Linked DNA regions of Homo sapiens: all the other regions are linked to region 6. The links are contacts of gene promoters, found by promoter capture Hi-C in blood cells and fetal thymus (Javierre and others, 2016). All regions are on one chromosome and are shown on one strand. Each heading gives the region's core, a stretch centred on a gene start or on the middle of the fragment in contact. The rest is flanking DNA. Distances are from core to core; before and after follow the strand shown.

Evidence for each region. The method cuts DNA at HindIII sites, captures the fragments that hold promoters and counts their contacts. A CHiCAGO score of 5 or more calls a contact.
Region 1: a contact is called between a fragment that was not itself captured here and the fragment with the promoter of FKBP3 in region 6, in 14 of 17 cell types (activated CD4 T cells, non-activated CD4 T cells, naive CD8 T cells and 11 more). The highest score is 19.8, in activated CD4 T cells.
Region 2: a contact is called between a fragment that was not itself captured here and the fragment with the promoter of FKBP3 in region 6, in 3 of 17 cell types (monocytes, M2 macrophages and naive CD4 T cells). The highest score is 8.2, in monocytes.
Region 3: a contact is called between a fragment that was not itself captured here and the fragment with the promoter of FKBP3 in region 6, in 3 of 17 cell types (non-activated CD4 T cells, total B cells and total CD8 T cells). The highest score is 7.9, in non-activated CD4 T cells.
Region 4: a fragment that was not itself captured here is called in contact with the fragment with the promoter of FKBP3 in region 6 in 11 of 17 cell types (activated CD4 T cells, fetal thymus, non-activated CD4 T cells and 8 more); the score reaches 11.0 in activated CD4 T cells.
Region 5: a fragment that was not itself captured here is called in contact with the fragment with the promoter of FKBP3 in region 6 in 17 of 17 cell types (non-activated CD4 T cells, activated CD4 T cells, naive CD8 T cells and 14 more); the score reaches 30.0 in non-activated CD4 T cells.

The regions. Positions count from the first base shown.
Region 1 is chr14:44,947,474-44,951,485 of GRCh38, forward strand. All of the region lies in intron 1 of KLHL28 (kelch like family member 28), which reads right to left. Among named protein-coding and RNA genes, the nearest start is that of KLHL28, 12 kb to the right of the region's middle. The HindIII fragment of the contact is 2,911 bases long and covers 441-3,351 here.
Region 2 is chr14:45,285,865-45,290,091 of GRCh38, forward strand. It overlaps the pseudogene DNAJC19P9. Among named protein-coding and RNA genes, the nearest start is that of MIS18BP1, 35 kb to the left of the region's middle. The HindIII fragment of the contact is 3,362 bases long and covers 561-3,922 here.
Region 3 is chr14:44,879,583-44,883,926 of GRCh38, forward strand. No RefSeq gene overlaps it. Among named protein-coding and RNA genes, the nearest start is that of DORIP1, 16 kb to the right of the region's middle. The HindIII fragment of the contact is 2,600 bases long and covers 952-3,551 here.
Region 4 is chr14:44,989,580-44,993,768 of GRCh38, forward strand. All of the region lies in intron 1 of TOGARAM1 (TOG array regulator of axonemal microtubules 1), which reads left to right. Among named protein-coding and RNA genes, the nearest start is that of TOGARAM1, 29 kb to the left of the region's middle. RefSeq lists an enhancer at 287-406. The HindIII fragment of the contact is 7,515 bases long and covers 1-4,189 here.
Region 5 is chr14:44,929,958-44,934,611 of GRCh38, forward strand. KLHL28 (kelch like family member 28) reads right to left here. Exons shown (of 5, transcript NM_017658.5): 3 at 4,158-4,601; 4 at 1,376-1,584. Among named protein-coding and RNA genes, the nearest start is that of KLHL28, 30 kb to the right of the region's middle. The HindIII fragment of the contact is 1,071 bases long and covers 1,754-2,824 here.
Region 6 is chr14:45,132,609-45,136,983 of GRCh38, forward strand. It overlaps FKBP3 (FKBP prolyl isomerase 3), which reads right to left and starts at 1,873. Exons shown (of 7, transcript NM_002013.4): 1 at 1,741-1,873. The coding sequence starts at 1,848. FANCM (FA complementation group M) reads left to right here and starts at 3,322. Exons shown (of 23, transcript NM_020937.4): 1 at 3,322-3,931. The coding sequence starts at 3,424. RefSeq lists enhancers at 1,071-1,942, 1,630-1,849, 1,943-2,813, 3,476-3,525 and a silencer at 1,819-1,996. The HindIII fragment of the contact is 3,907 bases long and covers 564-4,375 here.

The sequences.
Region 1 (4,012 bases), core at 646-3,145, 190 kb before region 6:
AGAATGGATTGTAGCAGCTGCTTAGAGTAGACAAAAGGAATACAGGTCATGTATACAATATAAGCTATTTCCTTCCTGTCTCACTCACATTTCAATCACAAGTTATGGCAATAACGAAAAAGTACATTTGGTTTCCATCTTAAAACCATCAATTCTATAAATTCAAACATTTTGAACACTATTGAGAGAGTATAGCACTTCATTCTTATACATTTTTAAGTGGAAAAAATCCAACTCTTGAAATTTTTATCTTTGTCAAGTACGTAATTGTTTCATACTTATTTCACAATGAATTTTAAGTCAGTTAATAAATTATGTTAATATGGCCACTTTCCAGCTGGTAACAGCCTCCACTGCTGATCTCTGCAAATAATCTCACACCTATCTACTAGAAAAATTCTCAAATGTTATTGCAGTCATGGTATAAACAAGTCCCAAGAAGCTTCTGGGTCTTCCAGTAGGTACTTTTTTTCCAGAACATAATATATACTAGTAAGTAGATGGCAATCAGAAGGCATAAGTTTAGATCTGTACACGTTCTGTTAGTTATTCCAGTGTTGATCTTTTTAACCTATGTAACTTCTTTTAGCCTCAGTTTTATGAAAAAGTTAAAATCTAGACTTAAAAGTAAAGAATGAATAACAGGAAAGGCAAGTAGATAGAAAAAATAGGTAATGGGGTTAAGAAAGCAGTCCTCGTTAACTTTACCTTCTCAATCTTTGTTTTCCTTATTTGCAGAATGAGATCATAATAATACCTGTACTTTATTATTCAGGTATTAATGTAGCTGAGGTTTTTGAGGATCAAATCAGACAATGTACATAAAAACATGATAAACTGTAAGTGATATTGTACTACAGTAGTACTATGGTAGCAGTGAGGCGATAGAGATAAAACATATCAGTGAAGAACACAGACTTTGGAAATATAAGGTAATGAGTTTTAGTCCCATCTGAATCTTAAATTATATTATTAGGTGGAATAATAGGTACCAGCCTTTCTTAATCTAAGTATTAATTGTTTCATTCATAAAATAAGAATACCCCACTTATCTCAGAAGTTTACCTGAAAGTGATTCTCTAAAGTATAAAGTTCTACAAAATATACAGCTTGAGGTGTTAAGAATATAGTACTTACGTCTCACTGTACTAAATTGCCACTTCCCAATATCCCCACTTTCACTAATTCCCATTCTTTCCCACAATGACCTTTTACTCTTATGATGCTCATGTAATGACTATAGCTCTATATAAAACTTGCTATCTCCCAAATATTTTCTTACCACACGTTAGATTTTGTCTATAACCTTTCTCCTCTGATCTTCCTTTCCTCCAATTCAAATTCTCAAAACTCAAGATCAAAAATTAACTTTACCTGGACGTCTATAAGCATTTATTTACTATATCCCTTTACATGCAATTAATTCAATTATACGTGTTGCTCTGTAAAACATACCCCTTTCAACTCTCATTTTCTGATTTAACAAGGAGAATGGTAGACTAAAAAGTGAAGGATGAACAACAGAAAAGGAAAATGTATGCGAAAAATAAGAGAAGGGATTGAAAAAGGAGACCTAGTCACTTTGTAAATTCATCTCTCTCTCAGACTAAACAATTATGTTTCAAGATATTTAAAAGAGCCTGCAAATGAGATTATTGAATCATTACCAGTGCCACAGGACTGAAGACTATTTTCAAAAATAAGACAGTAAATTCTACAATATGGTAAGATTTCTGTTAATTTCAGATAACATTCTAAAACAAATTATTAAAGATTTGACTTGTGAATACCGATAAGAAGATGTAGAGATCTTTAGGATTAGGATATATGAGCTAAAAATAATAAGACATGTTACAGACTAGGTTTGTTTCTTTTTAAAAATTTATTTAGAAGACTTGTAGATCAGAAAAGTAGACTTGATATTTAACTAGATATTAGTAAATAATTTTATAATGCCCTTCATGATTTTTCAAAGAACAAAACTAAAAAAATATATAAGCTAGTTCAGTTAGCTAAATCAGCAACTAGTGGAACAAATACCCCCCAGAGTATACCACTTAATGGAATGAGGCCTAGAGGGATGCTTCTAGTGGTATTCTGTAAGGCCAAGATGAAGATATTTTATGTCCTGAACTTTGAAGATGACATGAAGCTGCAAAGGACAGCAAAAGCATTGACTAACACAATAAGGATCCTGAAAGACTTATATCTAACAAGAAGAAATTTAAAAGGGATAAATGTAAAAATTCTATAGCAGATTCCAAACCAACTACCCAAGTATAGAATAAGAGAGAAAAGACGCATCTGTAGAACGTGTTTAACAGGTTTAGGGATTTTAATTGCAGTACTATTTTAACACCATAAACTTATGTGGGTTTAAGCTGCATTAACAGAACTATAATATACAGAACTACAGAGGAGAAATTTTTGCTTTGCTCTGCAAATGTCAGTCCATATCTGTACTACAGATTTTGGGTATCATCCTTTGACAGGGATCTAAACAGACTGTAACACCTGATGAACAGCAGAAATTCAAATCATGTCTTACAGGTAATGGAACAGAGGTACTGAGTCTGGGAAAAAAGGAGGTCTGAGTTATCACATGAAAAACCAAGGAATGAAGGTTACTCAACAACAACAGGAATAATAATTATAATATAGGGTTGTTTTGAGGATTAAACGAGTTTATACATAAAAAGGGCTCAGAATAGGGCCTATCACTTAGTAGGCTCTTAATAAATATGAGTTATTACTAGTAAATTCTTCGAGTTGTCCCTTGAGAAGTAGTCAACTTTCTATGTTGCACTACCTCTCACTATTAGATAAGAAACCCACTCTGTCTTCTCTGATACCCTGGGCAACACAAGTATCACAGAATTGTTGATTCTCAAATCAAGGTTATGAAGTATTGACTAGATTCATTTTTAATATAATTAGGAATCACATAGTGATAGATCCTATATTGTTAACCTAATTTTTGTGTACCCAATTCAAAACTGGTACACCATCAACATATGACACGCAAAAATGACACAACATAGGTCTGTAAATACACACATACATGTATGTACACACACAACACATAAATATACACACATGCATATATTTGTATGATATGCAGTATAGTTTTAAGAGACTGGGCTTTGGTACCAGGCTTCCCGGGTTACAATACAATGGTCTGTATTATGTGACCTTGGGAAATTCAGTCAAAAGTTTCAGTTTTCTCATTTGTAAAAAAATAGACAAAATTGTATAAAAAGCAGTTGTAAATATGCCTTTCTATGTGCTGGTACATAAGCACTCAGTAATTGGTAGACGTTATTTATTTTTACTGTTCATCAACCTTTAAAAAGCTTGGTTATTGCCAACTATATCCATGAAATGCCTTTCCATGCATACCAAAAAAGGAAGGAAGTTTGCTTACTGTCCAGGGAACAAATACCTACCAAAGCCAGGCCAAAGCCTCACTAATTCTATCAGTAAAGAGACATATGAGCCATTTTAAAATATAGATGGCTTATTAGATTTAGATAGTTTATTACTTACAGATTGAAAAGAAGATTAGCCAAAGAGTAAACTGCCTGGATCCTTGTCCCGCACATCAAAAATGGTAACACAAAAAAGGGGCTGGCCCCATGAAAACTATGGCTAAGCAGTTTTCTATTCTGTAGCTCTATTCTAAGGGTGTGGGATGGGGTCAAAAGTCTAACACCTAATCACAACCAGGGAAGTGAAGAGAAACTGTCTCATGACACACTTGTAGGGGAAATAGAGAGGTGAGTGGAAAATTGGGAGATGACCTCATAGCAGCTCCTTAGAGGCCTCTCACTCTCTCATATTCCAGGAGAATCACAAGGTGTGTCAAGCCACGGATAAGCTGCAGTCCTGAGGTCCAAGTCTTTGCCTACATGGATACATGCAAGGTGACCAGAGTACCATGACAAAGTTGTTCCCCTATACTTATGCCCCTATAATACTGCTTTATCTCACTTTCCTAGATCTATGTTGTTAA
Region 2 (4,227 bases), core at 992-3,491, 150 kb after region 6:
ACTTTAAATCAGATCAGGAGTAGGAAATAGCAACAGATCCAGGCTGGGGTGCAAGCAGCCCTGTCACTTGGGTCATACAATTTAGCAGAATTTATGATCATAAAGGTGTAAGTGATAAGACAAGATTCTATGTGGAGTTTGTTGCAAGTCCCAGTGGGCAAATTATAATGTTAGTCCCTTGGTTTTTGGAGCAAGGCAATGCCATTTTTGGTAGAGAATGATATACCTTTTGATGTGCTCCTGAACCCTGGTGGAGACAGGATGCCTGACCATGGAGTATCAAGTAACCATGTATATATTATATAAATTCCCATCATGAGCTGGGTCCTATCAGACTTACCAAATAGAAAGGTCAGATAGCCCAAGCAACAGTACATTGCAAGATGGAGTTGGTACATTTAGGAGCAAGTATAATCATAACCAGATGGCTCAAACAAGCTTCACGAGTAGGTATTACAGACCCCCATGGCACCTATCACTGTTTTAACAGTGCCCTTTCATTCATCTCATGCCTGTGGTTCTATGGAGGATTCTACCCAAAGCACAAAGAAAAAAACTCAAGCTTGGTTTATGGATGGATCAGCTCAGTATGTAGATGAAAGTCAAAAATAGCCCTACTCAAAAGTTGCTTTGAAAAGACAGAAGGTTCTTAGAACCATCGTCTAATACATGCTTTGCCCAAATGTGTTTCTCTCCCTGGTCTCACCAATACATTTTTTTCCCTCCTAACCATAGCTCTTGCTTCATTATATTTTAAAACCATTAACCTCTCAAATAATTTTATGGAATCCACTTACTTACCTCTTTTAAGAATTATCATCCATAACTTTGTCAAGTTTGAACCTTTTTAGAGAGAGGACCTTACTCAACATGTAGATTGGTTACCTTTTTGACCCAAGAATTGTACATCATTGCCACAGCTCACGACCCTGCCAGTGTAATTTGTTTCTTGAGATATGGGGTAGTTTCATAAGACTTGGCTACTTCAGGGTTTTAGCTCTGTGGTGATTAAAGGAATAATATTTAACCCAGAAATACTTATTAAACCTGCCAATCTGTTAAGAAAAAAGAACATTGTTTAGGATATCTTTTGATAGTAAAAGGAAATGCTTTAGGAGGACGAAATAGGTTGGAAGTTTCTGATCAGGCTTTTATATTAAAAAAAAAGATAAATGTAGGGAGAAGAAAAGGAAGTTACTCATGGAAACAAAGAAATTGGGCCTTAAAATCAGAAACAGACCTGGGAGCATGAGGCCATTTATATTCGTGGCCTTTCTTTTTTTTCTTTCTTTTATTTTTTTTGAGACGGAGTCTCACTCTGTTGCCAGGCTGGAGTGCAGTGGCGCGATCTTGGCCCACTGCAACCTCCACCTCTTGGGTTCAAGTGATTCTCCTGCCTCAGCCTCCCGAGTAGCCGGGTCTACAGGCATGCGCCACCACGCCCAGCTAATTTTTGTATTTTTAGTGGAGACGGGGTTTCACCATATTGGCCAGGGTGGTCTTGATCTCATGACCTCGTGATCTGCCCACCTCGGCCTCCCAAAGTGCTGGGATTACAGGTATGAGCCACCGTGCCCGGCCATTCATGGCCTTTCTACATGAGCACTGTGAAAGAAATTCTGACATCTCTTAAACAAGTATGCCTTTTCTCTTGCTAATTAATTTCTGGAATTTTGTTTCAAGTCTGACTTGAGAATGCTATGAAATATATGTTATCTTGTAAAGCCAATCCCATTCGATCAGAGGACAGTTCAAGTTGATTATTATTACTGTTAGTAGTATTATTATTTTGTTCTACCACAGGGCATTTCCCTCCTATAAATGTGCACAAACAAGGTATATAAAGGAAGTTTCTCTAGAACATATTAAAATGAACAATTTACCTTAATCTATGAATTTGCCAGACTCAGAAGAAGCATTGGAATTTAACAGGTTTCCACTAGATGGCAAGCCGCCTCTTTGAATTTCTCAATGGCATCAAGCAAAAATATTGCTGCTGTTTAAAACGTACATCTTTGCATGAGACAGCTGCACTTGTATCAAAAACTAATAAAGGCACTGATTCATAAATTTAGCCAAATTTAGAATCAAGCTATTCAAACTGAAACTGAAAATATATTGTAATGTTTAAAAGTTTTATTTGGAGAATATGTATTCATTTATTAATTTAACAAATATGAAGTGCCTCCTACGTGTTTTTCATGCTTTGTTTCATTTGTTCCCCCTAACAATGAGATTGGGTGTTCTTATTAGTCCCAATTTAGAGACTGGGAAACTGAGGCTTAGATAGATTAAATGATTTAGTAGTCCAAGATATACAGGTTTAAACCTACACAGTTTGTCCCAGAGCCGGCTCTCCTAACCACTACATCTTAGTGCCCACCATAAATAAATTACAGTAAATCAGTGTAATATGTGTAGCACTGTGTCATGTTTAAAAGGATTATTTTTTATTTTCTTCTTACAGACATTAGCAGAGTTAAATCTTCTGGCATGACCTTTATGAAAGACTGTGTATAAACAAGTAAAAATGATTGCAAAACACACTATATTAGAGCAAATAATGTCTGTACAGTGTTGCCTATATAAGCATATGCAAGATGAAAGGAAATGGCATAAAACTCTGCAAAAATACTACAGAAAAAGACAAATGTAAAGAGACAGAGTCAGAGAGAGACTGAGAGAAACATACATGTGAAAGAGAAATGATGAAATCATCTATAAGAAATCATAATTTCTGGCCGGGCGCAGTGGCTTATGCCTGTGATCTCAGCACATTGGGAGGTCGAGGTGGGAGGATACCTTGAGCTCAGGGGTTTGAGATCAGTCTGGACAACATTGCAAAACCCCATCTGTACCAAAAAGTACAAAAATTAGCTGGAGGTGGTGGTGCATGCCTGTAGTTCCAGCTACTCGGGAGGCTGAGGTAGGAGGATCACTTGAGCCCAGGAGTTGGAGGCTACAGTGAGCTGCGATCATGCTACTAGACTTCAGCCTGGGTGACATAGTGGGACCCTGCCTAAACAAAAAAAAAAAAAAAAAAGGAAAAAAGAAAAAAGAAAGCTGGGTGTGGTGGCTCATGCCTGTAATCCCAGAATCCCAGCACTTTGGGAGGCTGAGGCGGGTGGATCACCTGAGGTCAGGAGTTTGAGACCAGCCTGGCCAACATGATGAAACCCTGTCTCTACTAAAAATACAAAAAATTAGACGGGCATTGTGGTGGGTGCCTGTAATCCCAGCTACTTGGGAGGCTGAGGCAGGAGAATCCCTTGAACCCAGGAGGCAGAGGTTGCAGTGAGCTGAGATCGCGCCACTGTACTCCAGCCTTGTCAACAAAAAAAAAAAAAAGGAAAAGAAAAATAATAATTTCTGTAACAGAAACTGTTTCCTTGTTAATGTCTCTTGCTGTAGAAGAATTTTTCACAAATAGAAATTCAGTGAAATGAAAGTTTAAAAGACAAGAATATAAAACAACAGAATGAAATTAAAAGGGAAGTGCAAGGTCAAGGAAACTCAGATGTAAAGCAGAATTTTAAATCTAATAAATATATTAAAAGAATAAAAAGCAGAAGAGACATAGTTAAAATTTAAATTAATGTGATGGAAAAAAGGCATAAGTTACAGTGAATGAGAAGCAAGATGGAGATGAAGGCAATTAGGAAGAGGCTGTAGACATGGATGACTGACAAAACAATAGGCATCTCTGAAGTAGACAACAGATGGTGAGAAAAAGTATTCAGAGATATAATAGTGGAAAATCTCTTTCATAATAAAGCACACACGTCTAATAGGAAAAATTGATACTGAATTACCAACATTGAGAAGTGCCCTGTATGTTACCAAGCATCAAGATTTTAACAACAAAAAAGAATTCTTCAGACATCAAGTAGAAAAAGCAAGTTACTTAACAAGGGGAAATTCAAGCTTGTGTCAGACTTTTTACAGAAACATTTAGCACTGGAAGAAATAGAGGTGTCCACCACATTCTTGGACAAAATATTATATTCATCTATGTTATAATTCAAATATAAAGTATTCAGGGGATAAACATTTAAGAATTTTTTTTTAGGGGTTGCGTTGCTCTCTGGTAGAGGCGTGCAGGTGTTAGCCACACCCTCTGAGCTGGGATGAGCTGTGCTCCTGGTGGAAGCAAGGGAGCCCAGCCGAAGCCATGGCCAGTACAGTGGTAGCAGTTGGACTGACCATTGCTGCTGCAGGATTTGCAGG
Region 3 (4,344 bases), core at 1,002-3,501, 250 kb before region 6:
AGAAACAACAAAAAGTTAAAAAGCAGGGGGAGGGGCTGGGTGCAGTGGCTCACACCTGTAATCCAAGCACTTTGGGAGGCTGCGGTGAGTTGATCACCTGAGGTCAGTAGTTTGAGACCAGCCTGGCCAACATGGTAAAACCCCGTCTCTACAAAAATACAAATAAAAATCAGCTGGGTGTGTTGTTGCATACCTGTAATCCCAGCTACTCAGGAGGCTGAGGCAGGAGAATCACTTGAACCCAGGAGGCGGACATTGCAGCGAGCCGAGACTGTGCCACTGCACTCCAGCCTGGGCAACAAGAGTGAAAACTCCATTTCAAAAAAAAAAAAAAAAAAAAACCCCAGCAGGGGGAGGAAGTTAAGGTGTCAAGTTTTTATTAGTTTTCTTTTCACTTGTTTATGTAAACACTGTTAAGTTGTTATCAACTTAAAATAATGGTTTATAAGATAGTATTTTTAAGCCTCATGGTAACCTCAAATCAAAAATCATGCAACAGATACACAAAAAATAAAAAGCAAGATACTAAATCATACCACCAGAGAAAATCACCTTCACTAAAAGGAAGACAAGAAAAAAGGAAAGAAGAAAGCAAAGACCAGAAAACAAATAATGAAATGGCAGGAGTAAGACCTTACTTATTAATAATAACATTGAATGTAAATGAAGTAAACTCTCCAATCAAAAGACATAGCCTGAGGCTGGGCTGGGTGGCTCATGCATGTAATCCCAGCACTTTGGGAGGCTGAGGTGGGCAGATCACTTGAAGTCAGGAGTTCAAGACCAGCCTGGCCAACATGGTGAAACCCCATCTCTACTAAAAACATAAAAATTAGCCAGGTGTGGTGGCATACATCTATAGTCTCAGCTACTCAGGAGGCTGAGGTGGGAGGATTGCTTGAACCTAGGAAGTGGAGGTTGCAGTGAGCCAAAATCATGCCACTGCACTTAAGCTTGGGTGACAGAGTGAGACTCCATCTCAAAAAAAAAAAAAAAAAAAAAAAAAAAAGACATAGACTGGTTAACTGTATATAAAAATAAGAACATTGATCTGTTGCCTACAAGAAACACACTTCACCTATAAAGACACATGTAGACTAAAAAAATAAATGGATAGAAAAAGGTACTCCATGCCAATGGAAAACAAAAAAAGAGCAGGAGTTACTATACTTATATCAAACAAAATAGATTTCAAGATAAAACTATAAAAAGAGACAAAGAAGATCACTATATAATGATAAAGGGGTCAATTCAGCAAGAGGGTATAACAATTTTAAATATACATGCACCCAATACTGGAGCACCAAGCTATGTAAAACAAATATTATTAGAGCTAAAGAGAGAGAGAGACTCAAATTCAGTATTAGCTGGAGACTTCAACACCCCACTTTCAGCACTGGACAGATCTTCCAGACAGAAAATCAAGACAAAAACATTGGACTTAATTTGCACTCTAGAACAAATGTACCCAATAGATATTTACAGAACATTTCATCCAATGACTACAGAATACACATTCTTTTTCTCAGCACATGGATAATTCTCAAAGATAGACCATACGTTACAACACAAAACACATCTTAAAACCGTCAAAAAATTGAAATAACAGCAAGCATCTTCTCTATGATAGAATAAAACTAGAAATCAATAACCAGAGGAATTTTGGAAACTATACAAACACACAGAAAGTAAGCAATATGTTTCTGAATTACCAGTGGGTCAATGAAAAAATTAAGAAGGAAACTGAAAAATTTCTTGAAACAAATAAGGGAAACACAACATGCCAAAACCTGTGGGATATAGAGAAAGCAGTACTAAGAGGGAAGTTTATAGCTATAAGTGCTTATGTCAAAAAAGAAGAAAATTTTTCAATAAACAACCTAATGATGCACCTTAAAAACCTAGAAAAGTGAAAGCAAACACCAAGTAGTAGAAAAAAATGATAAAGATATGAGCAGAAATTAATGAATTTGAAGTGAAGAAAACAGTACAAAAATCAATGAAAAGTCATTTGATTTTTTTTTTTTTTTTTTTTTTTTTTAGATGGAGACTTGCTCTGTTGCCCAGGCTGGGGTGCAGTGGCAGGATCTCGGCTCACTGCAACCTCCACCTCCCAGGTTCAAGCGATTCTCCTGCCTTGGCCTCCCAAGTAGCTGGGACTACAGGTGTGCACCACCACACCCAGCTAATTTTTGTATGTTTAGTGCAGATGGGATTTCACCATGTTGGCCAGGCTGGTATCAAATTCCTGACCTCAGGTGATCCACCCACCTTGGCCGCCCAAAGTGCTGGGATTACAGGCATGAGCCACTGCTCCTGGCCTATTTTTTTTTTTAATAAACAAAATCAACAAAGCCTTACACAGACTAACCAATAAAAAAAGAGATAAGACCCAAATAAATAAAATCAGAGATGAAAATGGAGACATTACAACCAATACCACAAAAATTCAAAGGATCATAAGTGGCTACTATGAGCAATTATATGCCAAAAACTGAAAAAGCTAGAAGAAATGGATAAATTCCTGGACACATACAACCTACAAAGACTTAACTATGAAGAAATCTAAAACCTGAACAGACCATTAACAAGTAATGAGATCAAAGCCATAATAAAAAGACTCCCAGTGAATAAAAGCCCTGGATTTTATAGTTTCACTGCTAAATTCTACCTAACATTTAAAGAACTAATATTAATCGTACTCAAACTATTCTGAAAAATAGAAGAGGAAAGACTACTTCCAAACTCATTCTATGAGGCCAGTATTACCCCGTTACCAAAACCAGACAACACCACATCAAAAAAAAGAAAACTATATGCCAATATCACTGATAAATATTGATGCAAAAATCCTCAACAAAATACTAGGAAAGCAAAATTGACAAAACATTAAAAAGGTCATTCATTACAGCCAAGTAGAGTTTGCCAAGGAATGCAAGGATAGTTCAACATATGTAGATCAATTAATGTGATACATTATATCAACACAATGAAGGACAAAAACCATATGATCATTTCAACTGATGCTGAAAAAGCATTTGATAAAATTCAACATCCCTTCAAGATTAAAAAAAAACCCTCAAAAAAATTGGAAATAGAAGGAACATACCTCAACAAAATAAAAGCCATATGTAACAAACCCATAGCTAGAATCATACTCAATGGGGAAAAACTGAAAGCCTTTCCTCTAAGATCAAGAACATGACAAGGATGCCCACTTTCACAACTTTTTTTCAACGTAGTACTGGAAGTCCTACCTAGAGCAATCAGAAAAGAAAGAAATGAAGGGGATCCAAATTGCAAATCAAGAGTTCAAATGATCCTTGCGTGCAGATGCTATGATCTTATATTTAGAAAAACCAAAGACTTTACAAAAAAATTATTAAAACTGATAAACAAATTCAGTAGTTGGAGGTTATAAAATCAACATACAAAATCAGCAGAAGCATTTCTATATGCCAACATTGAACAATCTGAAAAAGAAATCAAGAAAGCTGTCCCATTTACAATAGCTACAAATAAATACCCAGGAATTAAACAAAAAAGTGAAAAGCTTATACAATGAAAACTATTAAGACATTAATGCAAGAAATTGAAGAATAAACCAAAAAAATGGAAAGATATTTCATGTTCATGTATTGGAAGAATCAAAATCGTTAAAATGTCCATATTACTCGAAGCAATCTACAGATTCAGTGTAATCTCTATCAAAATACCAATGACCTTCCTTACAGAAATAGAATAAACAATCCTAAAATTTACATGGAACCACAAAAGACTCAGAATAGACAAACCTATTGTAAGCAAAAAAAAAAAAAAAAAAAAAAAAGTGGAGGAATCACATCACCTGCCTTTAAATAATCCTACAGAGCTATAGTAACCAAAACAACACGGTACTGTCATAAAAATACACACATAGATCAGTGGAACAGAATAAAGATCCCAGAGATAAATCCATACAGCTACAATAAACTCTTTTTTGACAAAACTGCCAAGAATGTACACTGGAGAAAGTACAATCTCTTTAATAAATGGTGCTGGGAGAACTTGATATCCACATGCAAAAGAATAAAACTAGATCCCTATCTCTCACCATCTACAAAAATCAAATCGAAATGGACTGAAGACTTAAATCTGAGACCTCAAACTATGAAATTACTACCAGAAAACACTAGGGAAACTCTCCAGGACATCAGACTGGGCATATTTGTTGAGTAAGCACAAGCACAGGCAACCAAACCAAACATGGACAAATGGGATCACATCAAGTTTAAAAGCTTCTGCACAGCAAAAGAAACAATCAAAAAAGTGAAGAGACAACCTACAGAGTGTGAGAAAATATAT
Region 4 (4,189 bases), core at 1,196-3,695, 140 kb before region 6:
CATACTACTATAAAGAATCAGCATTTTGTTCAAAACCACAAGTCTCTAGGAAGTTCCAGGCTTTTCCACATCTTCCTGTTTTCTTCTGAGCCCTCCAGACTGTTCTAGCCTCTGCCTGTTACCCAGTTCCAAAGTCACTTCCACATTTTCAAGTGTCTTTATAGCAGTACCTCACTACCTCAGTACCAATAAACTATAATAGTCCATTCTTACACTGCTATAAAGAACTGCCCAAGACTGGGTAATTTATAAAGAAAAGAAGTTTAATTGACTCACAGTTTTGCATGGCTGGGGAGGCCTCAGGAAACTTACAATCATAGTGGAAGGAGAAGAGGCACATCTTACATGGCAGCAGGTGAGAGAGAGCGAATATGTGAAAGAGGAACTGTCAGACACTTGTAAGACCATCAGGCCTCATGAGAATTCACTATCATGAGAACAGCATGGGGGACATGGTCCCCATGATCCAGTCACCTCCCACCAAGTCTCTCCCTTGATATGTGGGGATTATGAGGATTACAATTCAAGACAAGATTTGGGTAGGGACACAAAGTTTAACCATATCATAAACATAAATGAAAAGACAATAAGGAAAGCAGATTCTAGATTCCCTGCCAGGTGCCACCTGACTATACTATCATCCAGCAGAAATCACCAAATAGACCGTAAAATCAAAACCCAGTTTCACCCACTGCTGCCGTCTGTGTGAACACAATTGTCCATGTGCTCAGTCAGAATCAGCCTTTGCCAAGAATATAGTTGCACACATATCTTTGTGTATTATATTGTGGCACATGAGCCACATTGCTCAGTCACTTATATGAGGAAAGTTTAACTGAGAACTCAAGACTCTAGGTCTCAGAAAGGATGCACTTTCAGGCCACATGTTTAACTCTCCTGTTTGGACTCAGAGGGACAATATATTAGTGAAATCTACAGAAATAAATGTCAAACAAAGAATCAGAGACATTTAGTTGGTTATTTCACACACTAGTTATTTTGCATGCAGTTTGCAATATTTTTTCCTCTCTTTGATCAGTCCTGGTTCTTCCTTGATTCAGCTGATTACCTTACTTTTAGCATGTATGAAAACAAACTGCACACAAAATAGCTAAATAGTCTGTATTTTGTTTGCACATTTTATGGGTGTGGTTAGCTGACGGCTACAGAGAGTTCAGTGTGGGTATTCTCCCTTTGTGTAGGCAGTTTACAGATATTTTAAAAAAAACACTTTGGGTTTTTTTCTTTTGTTTTTGAGATGGGGTCTTACTGTGTTGCCCAGGTCGGTCTTGGACTTGGGCTCAAGTGACCCTCCCACCTCAGCCTCCCAAAATGCAGGGATTACAGGTGTGAGCCACTACACCCAGCTGAGGCTTTTTTTTTTTTTTTTTTTTTTTGGAGACAAGGTCTCACTCTGTCTTCCAAGCTAGAGTGCTGTGGCACAGTTATGGCTCACTGCAGCCTCGACCCCCAGGCTCAAGTGATCCTCCCACCTCAGCCTCCTAAGTTACTGGGACTACCGGAATGCAACACCAGGCCTGGTTAATTTTTTATTTTTTGTAGAGATGGGGTCTTGCCATGTTGCCCAGGCTGGTCTCAAACTCCTGAGCTCAAATAATCCTCCCACCTCCACCTCTCAAAGTGCTGAGATTAAAAGCATGAGCCACTGCACTCAGCCTTAGTTTTTTGTTTTTGTTTTTTTTTTATTTTAGCTATGTAGCATATGTGACAGTCTTTCTAAAGTCTGCCAGTCTCCTTCTGTCAGCACTGCTACCTTAAGCCATGTAGGTACCATTTCCCTCATTGGAATTTTTTCCTTATCAATCTGAGAAAAGCCTGGGGAGCAATCTGAATGTTCCATCAAAGGAGAGTGGCACATCTAGTCAATGGAATATTAGGCAGCCATTAAAGATAATTTATGTCCTTGGACTCAATAGTTCCGTTTTTAGGACTTTTATACTATAGGAATATAATACACAAAGATATGTGTGTAACAATGTTCACTGCAAGATTGTAATAGTGAAAAGTCGTGGCAAAGAAAATGTCCATCAGTAAGGAACTATGAGTCTAAAATAAACAGATATGTATTGTCTTACATGGAAGGATGTCTACATATTTACTCTGTGCCAGAGTATCATGTGATTTATTTTTGTTTTTTTTTTAAAATAGCTTATTGAAGAATGTTTACATATAGAAAAAGACCTGTTAACAGGATTTATCAGTAGGATTCTACTGAGAAGGGTCCCAAAGAATAATTTAAGTTTATATCTTATTTCTATAGTTTGCATTTTTTAAATTTAATTTTTCTTTTGATAACTTTGGTATTTTTTATATTTTTTACAATAAGCAATTATTATTTTTGTAATTAAAGTTTATAGCCAGGCATGGTGGTGTGATCCTATAGTCCCAGATACTTTGGTAGCTGAAGTGGCAAAACCCTTGAGCCCATGAGTTCTAGGCCAGCCAAGAGAACATAGTGAGACCCTGTCTGTTAAAAAAAAAAAAAAAAAAAAAAAAAAAAACCAAACCAAAAAAAAAACACCAAAAAGTATAGCACTTATAAGGGGTTTTAACAGCATGGGAAGTACTTTTATTATAATGTAAAGTGCAAAAATCAGGATATAAAGTTTACATATAGTATCACAGCTATTTTTTCTAAAGTGTACATAGGAAAATAATTTGAAAGACAAATACAGTGATGTTTACAGAAGGTAACTGTGGTTAATGGGAATAAACTTGTTTAATGCCCAGCATTAAGGGGCAAGGGTGGAGTCTGGGTGAAACCAGAAAGAACTGGTAAAAGGTGAAAGGTTCAAAAACTGGAGGTCAAGATAAAGTTTAGTACAAGTTCAGTAAAGCCAGGAGTATAGGTGATTTCTGAGAGAATTAGATATTAAAAGGTCTTTTTCTGGTAATTTTTTGCTACCAAAATAGAATTAAAACTATTTTTGAGATGCTTTAATACTCCCTGCCAAAAGCTGCAATAGGATGCATTAGGTCAGAGGATTAAACAAGAGTAAATTTTTGTAATCTTTTTTTTTTTTTTTTTTTTTTTTTGAGATGAGTCTCCCTCTGCCTCCCAGGCTGGAGTGCAGTGGCGCGATCCTGGCTCACTGCAAGCTCCGCCTCCTGGCTTCACGCCATTCTCCTGTCTCAGCCTCCCGAGTAGCTGGGACTACAGGCGCCTGCCACCACGCCCGACTAATTTTTGTATTTTTTAGTAGAGACGGGTTTTCACCGTGTTAGCCAGGATGGTCTCGATCTCCTGACCTCGTGATCTGCCTGCCTGGGCCTCCCAAAGTGCTGGGATTACAGGCGTGAGCCACCATGCCCGGCCTAATTTTTGCAATCTTTTTATGAAAAATATGCAGGGATTCAAATAGAAAGACTAAGAGATAATAGGCTGTGTGTAGTGGCTCACGCCTGTAATCTCAGCACTTTGAGAGGCCAAGGTAGGCAGATCATTTGAGCTTGACGGTTCGAGCTCAGCCTGGGTAACATGGCAAAAAATAAAAAAATAAAGTAAAATAAAATAAAGATAAATAAAATAAAAATAAAATTAGCTGGGTGTGGTGGCACATGCCTATAGTCCCAGCTACTTGGGAGGCTGAGGTGGGAAAATCACCTGAGATGGGGAAGGTCGGCTGCAGTGAGCCATGATCATGCCACTGCATTCCAGCCTGAGCAACAGAGTGAGAACCTGTCTCAAAAACAAAAACAAAAACAAAAACAAAAACAAAAAAAGATTGAAACAGTAAATAACACTATGTAAATTTCCAACCATTATTAATATTAAATGTGAAACTTGCTTTTTTATAATGTTTTAATTTACTATAACTCTAAGGAATTAAATAAATTTTTAGGTATTAACTGCAAAGGTTGAAAATTCAGTTCCATGTTCCTGAGAGTCATCAATCAGGTGCTTTAAATAGACTGCTTCACATTTTGTAACGTTAACTCACAACTCTTTCAAAATTTATGAATTCTATTTTCTTTTACTCTAAACCACTTTTTCTTCGTTCATTGTTTCGTCCCATCAAAACTTACCCTAATGAAAATCTTTTACTTTTAAGAGAGACCTAAAGAGGACTTTCATGTTAATTGGTATGTCCTATAGTCTGCTTTCAGATGCACAATCTTCTATAGCAAAACTTAATCTCTGCCTGACTGCTGAAGATTTCTGAAAATG
Region 5 (4,654 bases), core at 1,039-3,538, 200 kb before region 6:
CTAGAAAAATCATTTTATGAGGTTTTCAAATACATTGAAATATTTAAAATATATTAAATGACATAATTTATGCTTCTAAAAATTCTACTTTAGATATTATCTTATATAGTTCTAAAAAGAAACAGTTTACTCCAATTTTTAAAGTTCTCATTGTTTCTGTGGCTTTCCCTCTCAAGGATACAAAAGAAACAAATTATAGTAAACACTAAAACAGTTCATTTCAGCTTGTCTTTTCAGTTTCTCTTGCATGTTTGTTTCAAAAGGTTCTTTAATCATAAATATAGGTTGAACATCCAATACCCAAAAAATATGAAATCCAAAGTGCTCCAACATTTGAAACTTTTTTTTTTGAGATGGAGTCTTGCTCTGTCTCCCAGGCTAGAGTGCAGTGGCGCGATCTCGGTTCTAGCGATTCTCATGCCTCAGCCTCCCGAGTAGCTGACACTACAGGCATGTGCCACCGCACCAGGCTAATTTTTCATTTTTAGTAGAGATGGGGTTTCAACATGTTGCCCAGGCTGGTCTTGAACTCCTGACCTCAAGTGATCCTCCCACTTCGGCCTCCCAAAGTGCTAGGATTACAGGTGTGAGCCACACCGTGCCTGGCCCAACATCTGAAACTTTTTGAGCACCATATGATGCTCAAAGAAAGTGTTCACTTAAGCATTTCACACTTTAGATTTTTGAACTTGGCATGATCAACCTGGTAAGCATAATTCAAATATTCCAAAATCCCAAATCCAAAACCTGAAACACTTCTGGTCCTAAGCATTTTGGATAGGAAATATTCAATCTGTATGAGGAGTGCTCCCTAAAGCATTTCTGTCAGTATCTTAAAACCTTTCCCTTAAAATGATGTGATGAGTTTGAGTTCAAAGATAACAATTTTTCCTAAACCACAAAAGTGGATTTGTTTTGTTTCTACGAACTCTGAAATACAACCCTTTTTGATCAACTATACCCCCTGGGGAAGAAAGAACATTTGAAAGTGAACATACAGATTACTGATATACAATAGAAAACAAAACAGAACAATCCGAGGATTGTATGTATGTAACATATGAAAAGATGACATTTGTTACATGGACAAAAGGAGCTTCTATAAATACACACTCTAGTATAAGCATTTCCCAAAATGTATTCAGCAAGTTTGAGAAACAATAATATGCACATTGGCATATAAAAGTCACAATAAAGAAATCTATATACTTTTGTCTAGCTAATTGTCTTTCAAGTTTACCACATACAAGTCTTTTTTTTTTTTTTTCTGGACAAGTAATATTCCTACTGCTATATTCCAAGGAACTATTATTGCAAGCACATCATTATAGAAAACATTGCCTTACATGTTTAGAAATTAATAAATTCTTATTACCTGTTCTAGGTTCTTTCATTGGTCTACACACAGTCCACTGATTTTGATGAGGATCGTATCTTTCAATGCTGGACAAATGTGAGACTCCATTATGTCCACCCACCACAAAAATAAAGCCTAGCATGACACCCACGCCAAAGTGAATCCTTTTATCTGCCATGGATGCAACCATCTCCCAGGAGTCCTTACTTGGATCATAACGCTCCACACTGCAAATATTTAAAAAAAATTTAATTTACAGATCTTTTGTGTCATTCTTCCTGTCAAAGCAAAACTAAAACCCACTACAGCTTTAAAAGTTCACATAATAGAGAGATATTAAACAAGAGTAGTCTGCCACAAATGCTTAGGTTTTGCTGATAAGATTGCAAAGATAAAAGCTTACCTTGTAAACAAGGTGCAATTCCATATGCTATTCCATTATATTGTGCAAGCGGCAAAGTATATTAAGAGCATAGAACTTGGAGTCAGAAGACCTGGGTTCAAGTACTAATTCTGTATACCTAGGGCTGAACGAACCTTAACCCTACTGCTGTGGATTTGTGTAATCCTGAATAAGTCATTTCCTCTCACCTGCAAAAATGAGGATAGTGCAACCTGAAGGGATTCATATAAGAATAAAGTCAAATGAGTATGCACGTGACTTTGAAAACCACTAACTGAATACAGACTTTTTTTTTTTGTTCCTAAATTTTATTTATTTATTTTTGAGGCAGGTCTCGCTCTGTCACCTAGGCTGGAGTGCAGTGACAAGATCAGAGCTCACTGCAGCCTCAAATTCCGGGGCTAAAGTGATCTTTCTGCCTCAGCCTCCTGAGTAGCTAGGACTAAAGGTACATGCCCCCATGCCTGGCTTGAATACAGAGGTTTTTAGGATCTTCTATACAGTTAAGGGGAAAAGAAGAGGAAGAGAGGGGTGGGGGGTGGGGAGAAAAACCTTTATTTTTTTTCGTCACAGGAGAATTCATGTGGCTTACTGCAAAGCAATCACTGTAGATTGCATAGTACAAACTGGCTGATCATAATTATCTCAGGGTGATTTAGGAGTACTCAGGAATTTGAGTCAAGACTGTGTTTCAGAGAACGTGTGGCATTTCTAAGCTGCATTATGGAATCCAAATTAAATCAGAATTTTCAAAAAGGCTTCCCTAGAAAATTCTAGCAGCTGTTTAAGACTATGGTTTCCTCTGAAGGTGCACAAAGGCACAGAGGTAAGATTGTTGGGCTTGTTCTGGCCCTAACCTATTTCCTGAAAAAACCATAAGCATTTAACAGGCTGTGACACCATTCTGGAGTTCATAATAGAGACTGGGTAATGTTTCTGAAAGAACTCCAGGATAGAATCCATTAGACCAAAATCATTGAAGAAGAGTTGATGCACTGCAGCAAGACTTTCAAGATAATCAAATTTAAAATACTTAACCTTTTATCTTACAAATTTTGGGCAGAAGCTTTTCAAAGAATAGAAATGCATGTCTATGTCCCATATTTTTCCTTCAACTAAGGGCAAAAAATATAAATAAATAAAAGGAGGAATACTTTGGCTTCAATAGAAGTAAAAATTTACAGATGAAATGCTGTTGTGCCATCACTTTCTCAGTCAACAAACCTCAGTATTTGTAGAGGATTGGTTCCAGGATCCACCCCATCCCAAGGATACCAAAATTTGCAGATGCTCAAGTTCCTTATATAAAACAGTATAATATTTGCATATAAGCTACACGTATCCTCTTGTATACTTTAAATCATCTCTAGATTACTTATAATACTATGCAAATAGCTGTTATACTGTATTATTTTGTTTTTTATTATTGTAAATTTTTTCAAATATTTTTGATCCACAGTTGGATGGATCTGTGGATGTAGAACCCGTGGATATGGAGGGCTGACTGTATGCCCTGTCATTAAAATACTCACAATCAAAATAACACAAACCACTCTAATTACTATTAAAGATACAATCTTTTCTTTTCTTTCTTTCTTTTTTTTTTTTTTTGAGACAGGGTCTCACTCTGTTGCTCAGGCTGGAGTGTAGTAGTGCATTCAAGGCTCACTGCAGCCTCAACCTCCTGGGCTCAAGCAATCCTCCCACGTCAGCCTCCCAAAGTATTAGGATTACAGGCGTGAACCACCACACCTGGCCAAAGATAAAACCTTTGGAACATCAATTTTCAATAAAGGTTCAGAATTACGATTAATTTCTCATATAACTAGTTACTTCATACTTTTATTTTCTCATATATATTTCTCCTTTATTCAGATAAAACTACAGAATACAGATATCACAAATTCAAACTCCAGCACAAGTCAAATACCTGATGATACATGTATGATTACAGGAAAGAATTCAGAAAGGAATATTTAAATAAGGTTTTAAGTTTATGATGTGCTATAATATTGTATAGACACACAGGAATTAAATTTCTACTTCTTTATTCTATTAAGCAATACAATAAAAGATAATTTACATACTGTGCACATAGATGTACACACCACACAAAATCTAAAGTTGTCTAACTTCATCTTATTTTTAGGTTTCTGAGTTTTAAAATCTAGTCCATTTATAGTGAATGAATGTAAAATTTAATGAGAGGGATTTGATTGTTAGGTTTGTATTAAATTCCCATGTAAAACAATTACAATTATATCCATGGAGCAGATTAAGTTTCCCAAATGCCGGAAGTTCATTCATACACACAAATTGTTTAAAACTCAGAAATCATTGCTAATGAGACTTTTAAAAATCCATAAACATATGCAATTTAATTATTAAGTTAAATACCTGTTCATGTGGGCAGGACCATACCCACCAATGGCATATATCATTCCATCCAATACCGCTGCAGCAAAACAACTTCTTGTTGTCGTCATTGGTGCCACAGGTTGCCATTTTCTTATTTTGGGAATGTACTTCTCTACAGATTGTAAATAAGATTGTCCATCATAACCACCTAAGGCATAAAGTTCTCCTGCAAGTACTACTACTCCAAGAGTACTTCGGCTTTCATTCATTCTCTCTAGAGAAGTCCAAGTATTTGTATCAGGATTCCAGCATTCCACTGAATTTTCATGTTTTCTGATAGTGACGCCAGGACGCACATTAGTTGCAATACCACCTATAACATATACTTTTTGGTCTAAAACGCATATTCCAAATTCATAGCGAGGAATGTTTAGGGGTGCCAAACCAATCCAAGAGTCATTCTGAGGAAAGTACATCTCCACACTAAAGAATAAGCAGAAAAAATATAAAATTTAAAAACCAAAGTGGCCCATAAA
Region 6 (4,375 bases), core at 623-3,122:
CAGGCTGGTCCTCAATGCCTGGCCTCAACTGTTAGTCAGGATGGTCTCGATCTCCTGACCTCGTGATCCGCCCGCTTTGGCCTCCGAAAGTGCTAGGATTACAGGAATGAGCCACCACGACCGACCGAGACTATGCATTTAAAAGATTAATGTTATAAAAACATTTTGATAATCCAAGTCTGTTGAAATTCTTCCACGTGGCCCAGTTTTACATACGATTCCACATGGCATGATTTGTTTCATAAGAATATGATGGATGAAGTACATGACTGAGGTATTATTAAATGTTAATGATGTCTATTCTATTGTTTCAGATGAAATACGAATTGGCTTAAGAGAAAATAGTTCCATTAAAATGGGGTAAGATCCCCGACACATGTTCTTTTTCACCCTTGTACCTCCAAACACTGAGAATAGTTCTTGTTACAGATGTTGTATTAATATCTGCTAAATTAATCTAAGATGCGGATGCCAGGATAATAATTAAGGAAGAAGGCACTGGAAGTTGGAGAGTTCTTCTATCTCCCTGTCATGACGCCCGCCCAAAATGAAAATAAAATATAAGCTTCTCAAAATAACCCAGAAATAGTGGCTCACGCCTGTAATCCCAGCACTTTGGGAGGCCGAGGCGGGCGGATCACGAGGTCAGGAGATCGAGACCATCCTGACTAACACGGTGAAATCCCGTCTCTATTAAAAATACAAAAAATTAACCTGGCGTGGTGGCACGCGCCTGTAGTCCTAGCTACTCGAGAGGCAGAGGCAGGAGAATCGTTTGAACCCGGGAGGCGGAGGTTGCAGTGAGCCGAGATCGCGCCACTGCACTCCAGCCTGGGCAACAGAGAGAGACTCCGTCTCAAACAAACAAACAAAAAAACCCAGAAACAGTTTTTCTAAATGAAAAGTTTAGAATTTTAAAAATTGTATAGAAAACACAAGCAGGCTGCCGCTTGTAAGAGAATGCTGCGTGCACAACTATTTCAGCAATTTAACAGGTGCATGAATGAACTTATTTTCCAAAGGAAAAACAAGTGTAACAAAAATAACTTGACTATAGACGGATGGTTAAGATGGAGACTATGCTGACAAATGGAGAGCCTACAGTATAAAGCATTTCAAATAAATTTCTTAGTCTGTTTATAACAATGACAGACCACTGCACAAGAGAAATGTGCATGTAGCTCCCTTAAAGTATAAAGGTGAAAAGGTCATTTAAAGGGTCGATATGTTAAATCAAAACTTAAACCACAACCTACGGATTTTTTAAAAATCACACGCATTAATGTTCAGTATTTAGTAAACTGTTGAGAAAAGCAAGTTGGATACACCGTTCCCACAGAAATCTTCACATCCCTTCCCATTTCCCTAGTAGCCGGCGCCCCGCTCCCAGGAGTCTCATCCACACCACTATTCCTCGGCCTCTCCGCCCTAGCCCCCAATATCCTCGGGTTCCTATTTTTCTGGCCTCCACCCCCACTCAAGGATCCCAATGAGGTTCTAACTCTACAATTGCAGCCTGTGTGCCCCAAGAAATAAAGCTGCTCCCCTGCCCCAGTAGAGAACGCCCGAGAGGCGGGAGCGAGGCACCAAAGCACAAGCTGGGCCTCTCCGGCCTTCCAGGCCACCGGCCGCGGGAAGACGAGGGCGGGGGCACAGAGGAATACGGAATGTATGGGCATCTCCAGGGGGGTGAGGCGTCCCTCAGCCGCACCAGCCCGGCCGCCCCTACGCCTCTGGTACCGAATCTGAACCGTGTTCCTGCAGAAACTTGATAATGTCCTTCTTGGGCAGCTGCTCACTGCGCAGCTGCTCCACGGTCCACGCCCGCTGTGGAACGGCCGCCGCCATCTTCCCCCGCTGCCTCCGCTTTACTGAGCCAGCCCGCCGCAGTTCGGCATCGCCCCGCCCCCTAGGGCGGGGCGGGGCCACTCACGGAGGTCGAGGGGCGGGCCTCTGCTCTAGCAGTCGGGATTGGGGCCTGTCTTTGAGTGACGTCAAGGCTGTGCTATGAGGGCTTCTTTGTTGAGTCCGGGTTGAAAAACCTACCGCGGTCGTCTCTGCAGTCGACTGAGTAGAAGACCGCTAGAGATCTTCGATTCTGAATTAGACACCTTGTGAAGCGACCTCTGATGGTAGCGACATTTATCAACCATTACCCACATTTAAGGCAGCTATGCCTTTAAAGTCCAGTCTATAACCTGTTAAAAGAAAACAGCATTCAGGCTCCTTATCTCGTTTTATCTAGTTCTAGCCTAAAAAGTCACACCTGAAGTGCTTCAGTCCTTGTCGATCCGAAAACCCATATCCCACCATTTCCCTTTTAAAGATCACACAACCGAAACTTAAATACAAACTGCCCATCCCCTTCCCCCCATACAAATACGAGAAAGTTTGTCCAAAACGAAGTTCAGAAACTTTAACAAATAAAACAATTTATAAAGAAGCCGCACTCAGGATGCCACTTGCTGATGAGAATGACATTATTAATGCTCGTAACTCTGTGATGTATATTTTTTTCTCAGTACACGAGGAAACAAATTTACAGAGGTTACTCAAAGTCAGGTTTAGAGAGAAGTCAGGAATTATTTGAGACAGAAATCTTCGTTAGAGTGGAATAATTGCACACCGACGTTTATTATAATGCTCTTACCTATAATAAAGATTTAATAGTTGAACATCAGGACTCCTTACTTAAAAAAATGTAGGCTGACTCTGGGCATGTTGCCTATGAGTTAGCTCTGCTTTGCAAGGAGCATTAAAAAAAAAAATTCTGACGAATAGCTGGACCAGACCACGTTCACTTCCCTTTAAACAATGAAAATATTAAAATAATGGGTTGCCACTCCCAGCGCGGTGAAAAAGAGACTTGGCATTTTGTTTTCTCAGCCCAGATAGAGATATAAGACAAATTATTCCATCTACACATTTTTGCTTTTCACTTTATATTCTGATTTAAAAGTACAAGGAATGAGGCACGTTAGACGCTCAATAACATTAAGTTCCCAAACTGGTGGCTATTCCATTGTCCCCGGGTATGTAATATTTTACAATAAATCTCTATTATAACATTTTAAGTGATTTATCACGTTAGCAATGACGCCCAGCCATCTAATCATTGGAAACGGAACTTAAATTTAGAGTTTGTTAAAACAAAACACCGGAACCGCACCGGGGACCATATTTAGAGTAACGCCTTAATAATGCGCATGAGTCTCCGGCAGGGCTGTGAAGGTTTCCGGGAAGCCAGCCAATCATTCCCAACGGAAACTCAGTAGCGGCATTTTCAACTGGATAAACTGGCCTTAGTCCCGCCTTCTCGTTCCAGAGTTTTGTGCGAAGGAAACCGATGGGGATCGGAACCGTAGCGGTTGAGCTGCTGCTGCTACGGATATCTGACAGAAGCCTTCGGTGGTTGTCGGCCTAATGAGCGGACGGCAAAGAACGCTTTTTCAGACGTGGGGCTCAAGTATCTCCCGATCATCTGGGACTCCGGGTTGCAGCTCCGGAACTGAGCGACCTCAGAGCCCTGGCAGCTCCAAGGCGCCTTTGCCAGCAGCAGCGGAGGCTCAGCTGGAGTCGGACGATGATGTGTTGCTTGTCGCGGCGTACGAGGCTGAGCGGCAGTTGTGTCTAGAGAATGGCGGGTTCTGCACCTCCGCGGGCGCCCTGTGGATTTACCCTACCAATTGCCCAGTGCGGGACTACCAGCTGCACATTTCCCGGGCTGCTCTGTTTTGCAATACGCTGGTGTGTCTGCCTACCGGACTGGGAAAGACCTTTATTGCCGCCGTGGTCATGTACAATTTCTACCGCTGGTTCCCTTCAGGAAAGGTGGTCTTCATGGCCCCAACGAAACCCTTGGTGACACAGCAGATCGAGGCTTGCTACCAGGTGATGGGTATCCCGCAATCCCACATGGCCGAAATGACAGGTATCTTAGACTGGACTAATTTTGAAGTAAGAGCTGGGAATTCCTGACCCATGTGGAATAGTTCCCAAGCTACAACATGTGCATCTTACGCCCTCCCTCTTAAAACATTCTCTACTTGCAGCAAGCCCAAAACTGATGAATAGGGTTGCTTTATTCAATCTTCAGAGAATATCTGCAGCTTGTCATAGTATTTTGAAGCTATTATGTGCGTATACCCCATGGGTAACTGAACATGATATTTCCTGGCATTCTTCCTGAAAAAGATTTCTCAGTTGAAGAATTTGCCTCTCTTCAAATATGCCATTTTGTAGGAATTTTCTAAAGACAATTTGGTTGTAGTCCTAGATAAGTGCCAGCTTTGATATTTGGACCACACCAGAACTTTAAAATGTAGCATTCCGATGAATTGTCAAATTGTTTTTCTCTTAATGTTACCAAAGCATG